Regions from separate parts of the Homo sapiens genome. Here region 1 is linked to region 2. The links are contacts of gene promoters, found by promoter capture Hi-C in human tissues and cell types (Jung and others, 2019). All regions are on one chromosome and are shown on one strand. The core of a region is centred on a gene start or on the middle of the fragment in contact, and the rest is flanking DNA. Distances in the headings are between cores, read along the strand shown.

What was found. The method cuts DNA at HindIII sites, captures the fragments that hold promoters and counts their contacts. A contact is called where the count stands out against the background at its distance.
Region 1: a fragment that was not itself captured here is called in contact with the fragment with the promoter of GRIK4 in region 2 in 1 of the 25 tissues and cell types used here (dorsolateral prefrontal cortex).

The regions. Positions count from the first base shown.
Region 1 is chr11:120,543,410-120,547,270 of GRCh38, reverse strand. All of the region lies in intron 1 of GRIK4 (glutamate ionotropic receptor kainate type subunit 4), which reads right to left. Among named protein-coding and RNA genes, the nearest start is that of GRIK4, 34 kb to the right of the region's middle. The HindIII fragment of the contact is 8,132 bases long and covers 1-3,861 here.
Region 2 is chr11:120,510,202-120,514,079 of GRCh38, reverse strand. GRIK4 (glutamate ionotropic receptor kainate type subunit 4) reads right to left here and starts at 2,332. Exons shown (of 21, transcript NM_014619.5): 1 at 2,193-2,332. RefSeq lists silencers at 2,262-2,461, 2,642-2,721. The HindIII fragment of the contact is 7,551 bases long and covers 1-3,878 here.

The sequences.
Region 1 (3,861 bases), core at 360-2,859, 34 kb before region 2:
AGCCACGATAGAGGAGTGCCCAGGGTACCCTGGAGGCAGAGAGAAGGGTGAGTGTGTCCAGGACAGGCTCCCAGGAGAGGCACTGTGGAAGGAATGGCCACTGAGCTGGCTCCTGAGGATGAGTGGAGGGAAGAGAGGGAAGGGGACTTCAAGTCGAAGGGACTGTCCACGCAAAGGAACTGAGGCACACAAGACAGGAGAATGTGGAGGAAGCGCTGCCAGAGCCCAAGGGGCAGGGTGCCGGGGAGGTACGTGGAGCTCTGCATGCACGAGGCTTAAGCTGGACAGTCAGGCAATGCCAACCCCCCGACCTTGCTGTTCTTAAGCTGCGCTCAGCCCCAGAACCTGTTGGGATTAGAGAGGAAGCAAAGCCGTATTTGGTTTCTCTAGCAAAATTATGAATCATCATCTTGCATTTCCATTTCATGCCCAGTTCTGGGCCTGAAGTTCCCCACAAATTCCATCCTTACTCCTAGTAGCCACACAGTGGGAGGGGACTTCAGGAGGTGGGCGGAGCATGTGTGACTCAGGAACGGGAGTGACATACTAAATAACTCAAGGCTAATGAGGGAGCTGAGCCAGAAGCATGTCCCAGGTCCTCTCCACATACTGCACGTTCCCTAGACTCCATCCTTCACCTTGGACACACTCTGTGGGGCAAGACTCCCATGGGGATATGCTATGAGCAGCCCTCTCACAGTGCTGGACTCCCATGCGGACTGCATCCCCCTTCCTCTAGGTGGATCTCTAGGGAGAAAGAATCAGGCTGTTGCAGGGGCAGGCACAGAAACCATGTCGCCCTAGCCCAGCAGGTGCAGTCTCCACCACCTAGAAGGACACAGGCAGGCGCGGTCCCTTGAGAAGTCCTTTGCCATTCCAGAGAGAATCTTTCCCAACTGAAAAATGCCCCTGACCACTTTTCCGGACCAGATCTCATTTTGGCCCATCTCCCTCAAGGTGCAGTCCTGAGAACTAACCCAGGACTGCAAGGGAGACTGCAGGAGCAAACCCACAGCAACTGGGGGCGAACCAATTCAACAGGAACAGCAGCACCAACGCTGCAAGGGCTGGTTTGCAAGGAGGGTCCCTGCTGCTAAAATCTCCTGTCTCCTCCACACAGGGGTTCCCCCTTGGAGGATGCAGCCCTACAGAGAACGGCTGTACCTCAGGGCCAACACCTGACCCACCCACAAAGACCACGGATTCTTTGGTCATGGGCCACAGAGACACGAAGGGGAGAAACCGAGGGTACCCAGCCACACCGAGGGGCACCAACCCACAAAGCAGAAGTCAGGAGAGATGTGAAGCCATCTGGTCAGAGCAGGAAGGGTGGAGCCTGGGTGCCACCCTTGGCTCTGTCTGAAAACATGCAGGAAAGCACTCAGTGCACAGCACAGGCCTCCGCAGTTCTCAGTAACTCCTTCTCAGTCTTTATCAAGCCTGAGTTAAAGAACGTCTAGGTGTTGTTATCCAAAGATCCCTAAAACTGGTGCTCCCTACCTGACCATTATAATCAAGATTTCTGGATTCCAGGGCAGGTGAAACTCAATCAACAGTTCTCCTCCCTTTCATTCAAAATCCATTGCCACTGTTGTTTCACACAAGACAGAGGTAGTTAAGAGCCTGGGCCCTAGAGTCAAATGGTGCATATTAAAATCTCATCACTTCTTCGCTGTGTGACCTCTGCCAAGTTACTTAACGTCCCTGAGTCTGTTTTCCTCATACACAAAAGAATGGTTAATAATAATCGTACGTCAAAACACCTCGAATAGTGCTTACTACAATACGGCAATTACTCATTCCATGCCAGTTACTATTGTTATTGATAGTGGGCTACATGGTAGGATTGTTGGCAATTTCCACCCTCTTACATTTGCCTCACTGTATTTTTTAAACTCTCTTCAATGAGCACATATCACTTTATAACAAGAAAAAAATGTATCTTAGGAAAATAACCTTCAATTAAATTCACTTAATATAGTTTCAGCCAAATGAACACCCTTAACGACTAGAGATAAGGCAGTTTTGAGGGAAAGAGCTCCATTTCTGGTTTGACTACATAAGGACGTGTAGTAAGAGATGCACAAAAGGGCTCAAAGCTGTGGCTGAACAGTGGGAACCCTGCAGAGAGCCACAGGAAACCGGCCAGTGACCCCGCGGGCCAGGCCTGTATGTCCCCTGGTTTGTTCACAGCTGGCCTCTGGCCAGCTGTGAGGCCTTCAGTCAGCTGCGTAAGCTCCCTGCCTCAGTTTCCCCATTCACAAATTAGAGAAAGCGGGAACCCTGCAGCACACGGTTGTTGTGACAGTGGACCACACTGAGCGCACCCTGGGAGTCCGGGCTGTGCTCAACAAGCCTCAGGTCCCCTTGCCCCTAGGTCTTCAGTTTCATCTTATGGTCCCTTAGTGGAAAAGGACAAATATGGCTTCAATGAATCCACTGAAGAATCTCTGTTGATTCTTTCTAACCCTCCTTATCCAGCCTTAACCTCTCACATGTACATTAGGACCAGAGCTCTGATGACCCACAAGACACCTCCTTTCCATGTCCCCGTGGTAACTCAACCCTAGGAAACATCACAAGGTAGGGGGTGGAGGGACACAACTTCCTAATAACAGCTGTGCTGAAATGTCCAGGTTGAAAACAAATAGTACTCTTTAGCCTGTAATCCCAGCACTTTGGGAGGCCGAGGCAGGTGGATCACCTGAGGTCAGGAGCTCAAGACCAGCCTGGCCAACATGGTGAAACCCCGGCTCTACTAAAAGTAGAAAAATTAGCCAGATGTGGTGGCACATGCCTGTAATCCCAGCTACTCAGGAGGCTGAGACTAGAGAATCGCTTGAACCCTGGAGGCAGAGGATGCAGTGAGCCAAGATCATGCCACTGCACTCTAGCCTGGGTGACAGAGCAAGACTCCATCTCAAAAAAAAAAGTATAAAAATAGTATTATTTAACCACTTTGTTAAGGTATGATTGACATGTAAAAGACCATACATATTTAATGTATACAACTTGATGAGTTTGGGGACAAGTATACACTGGTGAAACTACTATCACCACCAAGGCCACAGACACATCCATCAGCTCCCACAGTTTCTCTCACCCTCTTTATAACTATTTTCATATGTCTATGGTAAGAACGCTTACTATCAGATCCATCCTCTCTGCAAATTCTAAGTATAGAACACAGTATTGTTAGCTATGGGCACTATGCAGCGCAGCTCGCCAGAACTGACTCGCCTTGCATAGCTGAAGCTTTGTGCCCTCTGACCAACAACTCATTTCCCCTCCCCACCAGCCCCTGACAACCATCATTCTACCCTCTGCTTCTGTGAGCTATTTTAGATTCCACATGTAAGTGAGATCATACAATATTTGTCTTTCTGTACCTGGCTTATTTCACTTAGCACACTGTCCTCCAGGTTCATCCACGTTTTTGCAAAGGTAGGATCTTCTTCTTTATTAAGGCTGAATAATATTCACTGTATGTGTGGACCACATATTCTGGATTCCATTCTTCCAAGAGGAACACTCTCTTGGCTATTGTGACTAGTGCTGCAATGCACATGGGAATGTAGATATCTCTTCAAGATCCTGATTTCAATCCCTTTGGATAAATACCCAGAAGTGGGATTACTGGCTTGTATGGTAGTTCTATTTTTAATTTTTTGAGGAACATACATTCTCTTTTCTTTTGAGATGGAGTCTCACTCTGTCACCTAGGCTGGAGTGCAGTGGCGTGATCTCAGCTCACTGCAACATCCGCCTCCCGGGTTCAAGTAATTCTCCTGCCTCAGCCTCCCGAGTAGCTGGATTACAGGCACACACCACCATCCCCGGCTAATTTTTTTGTATTTTTAG
Region 2 (3,878 bases), core at 1,083-3,582:
CCATCTCTGGATGGCTGAGAACCACCTCAGAAGCAGCTGAGCTCCTCTCTCCTGGATGCCCTGACTCCCTGCAGCTGGGACTTTCTCCTAGAGTCTCTGCCTCTCTCCCGGTACTAAAGTTCCCTCTCCATCCTAAGGGAAAACCAAAGTGGAAATCAGACCACGAAGCCGACCCAGGCTCTCGGAAGAATTTTCATTGCTGGGGAAGACAGCAGCCACCGATCAAGATGCCCAGGTAGGGGGATGGGAAAAACACAGAAAACCAAGATCCCCTCTCAACCTCCCCTCCCGAGCATCCACCTCTTCCCCACCCGGAGGGACCAGTGCTGCCTCTGGGTTTCAGGTGGCAGGTCCAGAGGAGGACAGAGGGGTGGAGCTGGTGAGGCAGGCGGGAGGCTGGTGGGCAAGCCCGGGCCACAAGGAATGAACAAAATATGGAAAATTAAACAAACCCAGACACTGTAATGTGTGCATATTAGATTAACTCTCCGAAGGGTCGTGACCTTGAGGAACACATCTGGCCAGTGAGAAAAATAATAAACCTGATTAATGATGAAGCCTGAGCTGCAGCTTCAGCAAATAAAGCCAGCATGATGACGCCCAGTGGAATTCCAGGGGCTGCCATCCCTGGTGGGACCGGAACACAGTGGACCTCGACAAGCCCCTCGCCCCTGACCACGCGAGCACAGACAGTCAGGGAGTCAGGCAGGACCGGATTTGTCTCTCAGATGCCCACTACCAACCCAGGCGGCCTCTCTCCCCGGAGATACCACGCCCGCAGTTTCCCGGTGCTCCTAGAAGTGTCACTACCAACCAGGTGACCCATAGGGAGTGAAAGTGAAGGTAGTTCTTTGTTCCTGGCAGGGCTCAGTCCTCCTGACCAGCCCTCAGACCTCTTGGCCTGGTCTTGACAGCTGCCCACTGCCTGGCAAAAGGGCCCAGCTGTGCTCAGAGCTCCCCTCCTCTTCCCAGACAACCCAGACCCTTGGGAGACATGCCCAGGAGAGCCACTGGAGGGAGGCAGGGAGGTGGCACCGCGTGGCATCACCAGACAACAGCACCAAGAGGAAGATGGCAGCATCAAGTACAGATGCCAAGAGCCACGCAGCCCAAGGTCCAGCCCGGGAGTGGCTCGGCCCGCATTGCCCCACCACTGCCAGGCAGACGGGCCAGAGGCGCCCGGGGCCCAGCCCCCTCGGCCGCCTCCTCCACCACCCCAAGGCCCTCAGCCAACTCTCCCCAGGCTCCAACTCCTCCCCTCACTTTGCTCAGCTCAAGGGAGCCAGGGAAAGAGACACAGGTGCTCTCAGTGCCTTGAACCCCCTGTCCCAGCTGTCGCCTGCACGCCCTCCACCCCAGCCAGGTCGGAGCGCACAGCTCTGCCAGTCCTCACTGAAGAGAATCTAAATCAGCTCCCCTCCCCCTCCGCCCCAGCCCCCTCCCCCATCACGCGCCCATTGCAGGTCTCTAGAGTTTCTCCCTCACTTCCCACTCGGATGAACTAGGGTGGGATGGGTGGGAGCCCCATTCTCCCCGGGAAAGAGGATCATTTCTGATAGGACGCTGGTTCCCCCAAGCAAGGCGGTGTGCAGGGTGGGGGGGTGTGGTGGTGGCCCGAGTCCAGTGCAGGGGCAGGGGGCAGTCGAGGCAGATGGCAGTGAGGAAAGGGGGAGGGGGCTTGGTGGGATGCCAGGCTGAGCCGGGATGGGGGGCTGCAGCCGGGGAACAGAGGCGCTGGGAGAAGCGGAGGGTGACGAGGTGTAGGGGAGACGCGCCAGGCTGGGAAGGGGCTGTCATCCCTGCAGGGGACAGAGGCAGGGCTGGGAGTTGCACGGGGAGGGGGAGGACCAGAGCGGGAGGACCGCGAGCCCGGGGAAGGGATGCGGAGGGAGGGAGACGGACCGGGGTGAAGACTGGAGGAACTACGGGAGCAGAGCGGTGGGGGGTTCGGCGGCGAATCTGGAGACGCAGGGACCGAAGTGCCAGGGACCGGGCTGGCGGGAGGCGGGAGCGGGGAGGAGGGCGCGGGGGCGGGGGCCGGGGCAGGGGTGCGGGGCCGCGGCCCCCGAGGGCAGGAGCGGCGGAGACGTCAGAAGTCGGGGTGCGGGAAGGGCCAGCGCGGAGGGGACTCGGGGGCGCGGGGGCAGCGCAGGGAGCGGGCCGGGGGCGCCGCGGGGGGCCGCTGCCCTTACCTGGTCGGCTCCGCACTCCGGGGGCTGAGCCGGGGGCCGGGCGCTGCCGGGCCGGCCGCGGGGCTGCTGTTGGCCGTTTTTCCTCTTCCGCAGCAGCCGTGGCGGCTCCAGCCCGATCCGCCCGCAGCTGAAGGCAGTCTGTGTCCGGCTGCGAGCGAGCCCGGCGCGGGGAGCGCGGGAGGAGCGCAGCGAGGCGCGGGGCGCCGCCCGGCGGGCAGCTGGGGAACTGCTGCGGCCCCGCGCACGGCCGGCCGGGGGGGCGCCCCTTCGGGGCCGGGCCGGAGCCCCGCGGGCAGCTGCACGCGCCCCCCAGCGCCCCTCGGAGCGTCGCCCGGGAGCCCAGGCGCGGGGGCGGCGGGGGCGGCGGGAACGGCGGGGGCTGCTGCGGGCAGGGCGGGCGCGGGTCCGCGCGGCCGGGGGCAAACTTGCGGCTGCCCGGGGGCCCGGGGCCGAGCGAGAGGCGCCCGGCTGGGGAGCGGCGCCCGGCAGAGGCTAGGGGCGCGCGGCCAAGCGGGCTCTGCGAGGTACGGACCTCAGGTGGGGAACCCGGCGCAGCCCGCACACTCCACCGCCCTGCGCAAAGGGGCAGCCCGCCCCGGCCCCGAGGAGTTATTAGCCCGGCGGCTTCAGCGAGCAAGGGGCGCCCCCTGGTGGCATTCGGGAAACAGCGCGGGGGACGAGCGTGCCCCGTTAGAAGAGACTGCGGCCTCAGTGGTGCGGAAGATGGAGAGGTGGAGGTTTCATGGGACGAGACAAGAGCACCTTGTTCAGGAGACTGAAGAGCAACAGCTTGCATGGAGTCATTCCAGAGCACTGTTGTATACATACCAACATCTTGGGAGGATCTCATGTTACGCATGAAGATCCTGAGGCTAGGAGAGGTGAAGGGACCAGGCCAAGAACACACGGGGAGCAAGTGGCAGGACCCAGGAGGCAACCCCGCTTTCTGACGCGCGGTTCATTTCAGTACACCGTGTGGTTCATCCTAATACAACAGAGTTGCCCTTAGGAGGAGGCTGGGTGAAGAGGGAGTCCTGGGGGAATAGGAGGGAGGGCAAGGGACACGTGACCCCCTCAAACCTATTAGCTCCCTCTTATCCAACCCGCAGAGTCTCTGTCTTGGGCAGACCACCAAACTGATCACACCGGCCCTCTCACCTTCAATGGCCTGTATCCCCACACCCAACCACCAGCACTCCCACAATCTCATTAAGCTCTCTGTGAAGGGTTTGTTCACAGACGTCCTTGGTCAGGTCTCACGCATGAGGCATACTATCGGGACTATAGACTGTTCTGGACGTTGCATTCCCCGGGGAGGGCTGGCTGGCTAGCCTGGGCGCGTACTGGGCCTCCTGCTTCAGGAGTCGTGCCTATCCCTCCCCCAGCTCCACACACTGGCTGGATGAATGCCATATGCGAACAGGGCTCCATTCCTCCAGCCAGACATTATTTAGCACCTACTGTTTGCCAAGACTATACCGCTTACACAAGTGTGATTCCCAATAATCAACTTTGCAAGGTAGGTGTTGAGGTGACACTAGTCCCATTTTACAGAGGATGTTAAACCTGTTAAGGTTTAAGAGCACCTGTAAGCCAGTGACACAAAACTAATTTCTAATTCCAACTCTATTCCCCCACTCTGGAACCCCCTCTCTTGTGCAAAATGGACGGAACAGCAGCATAAGC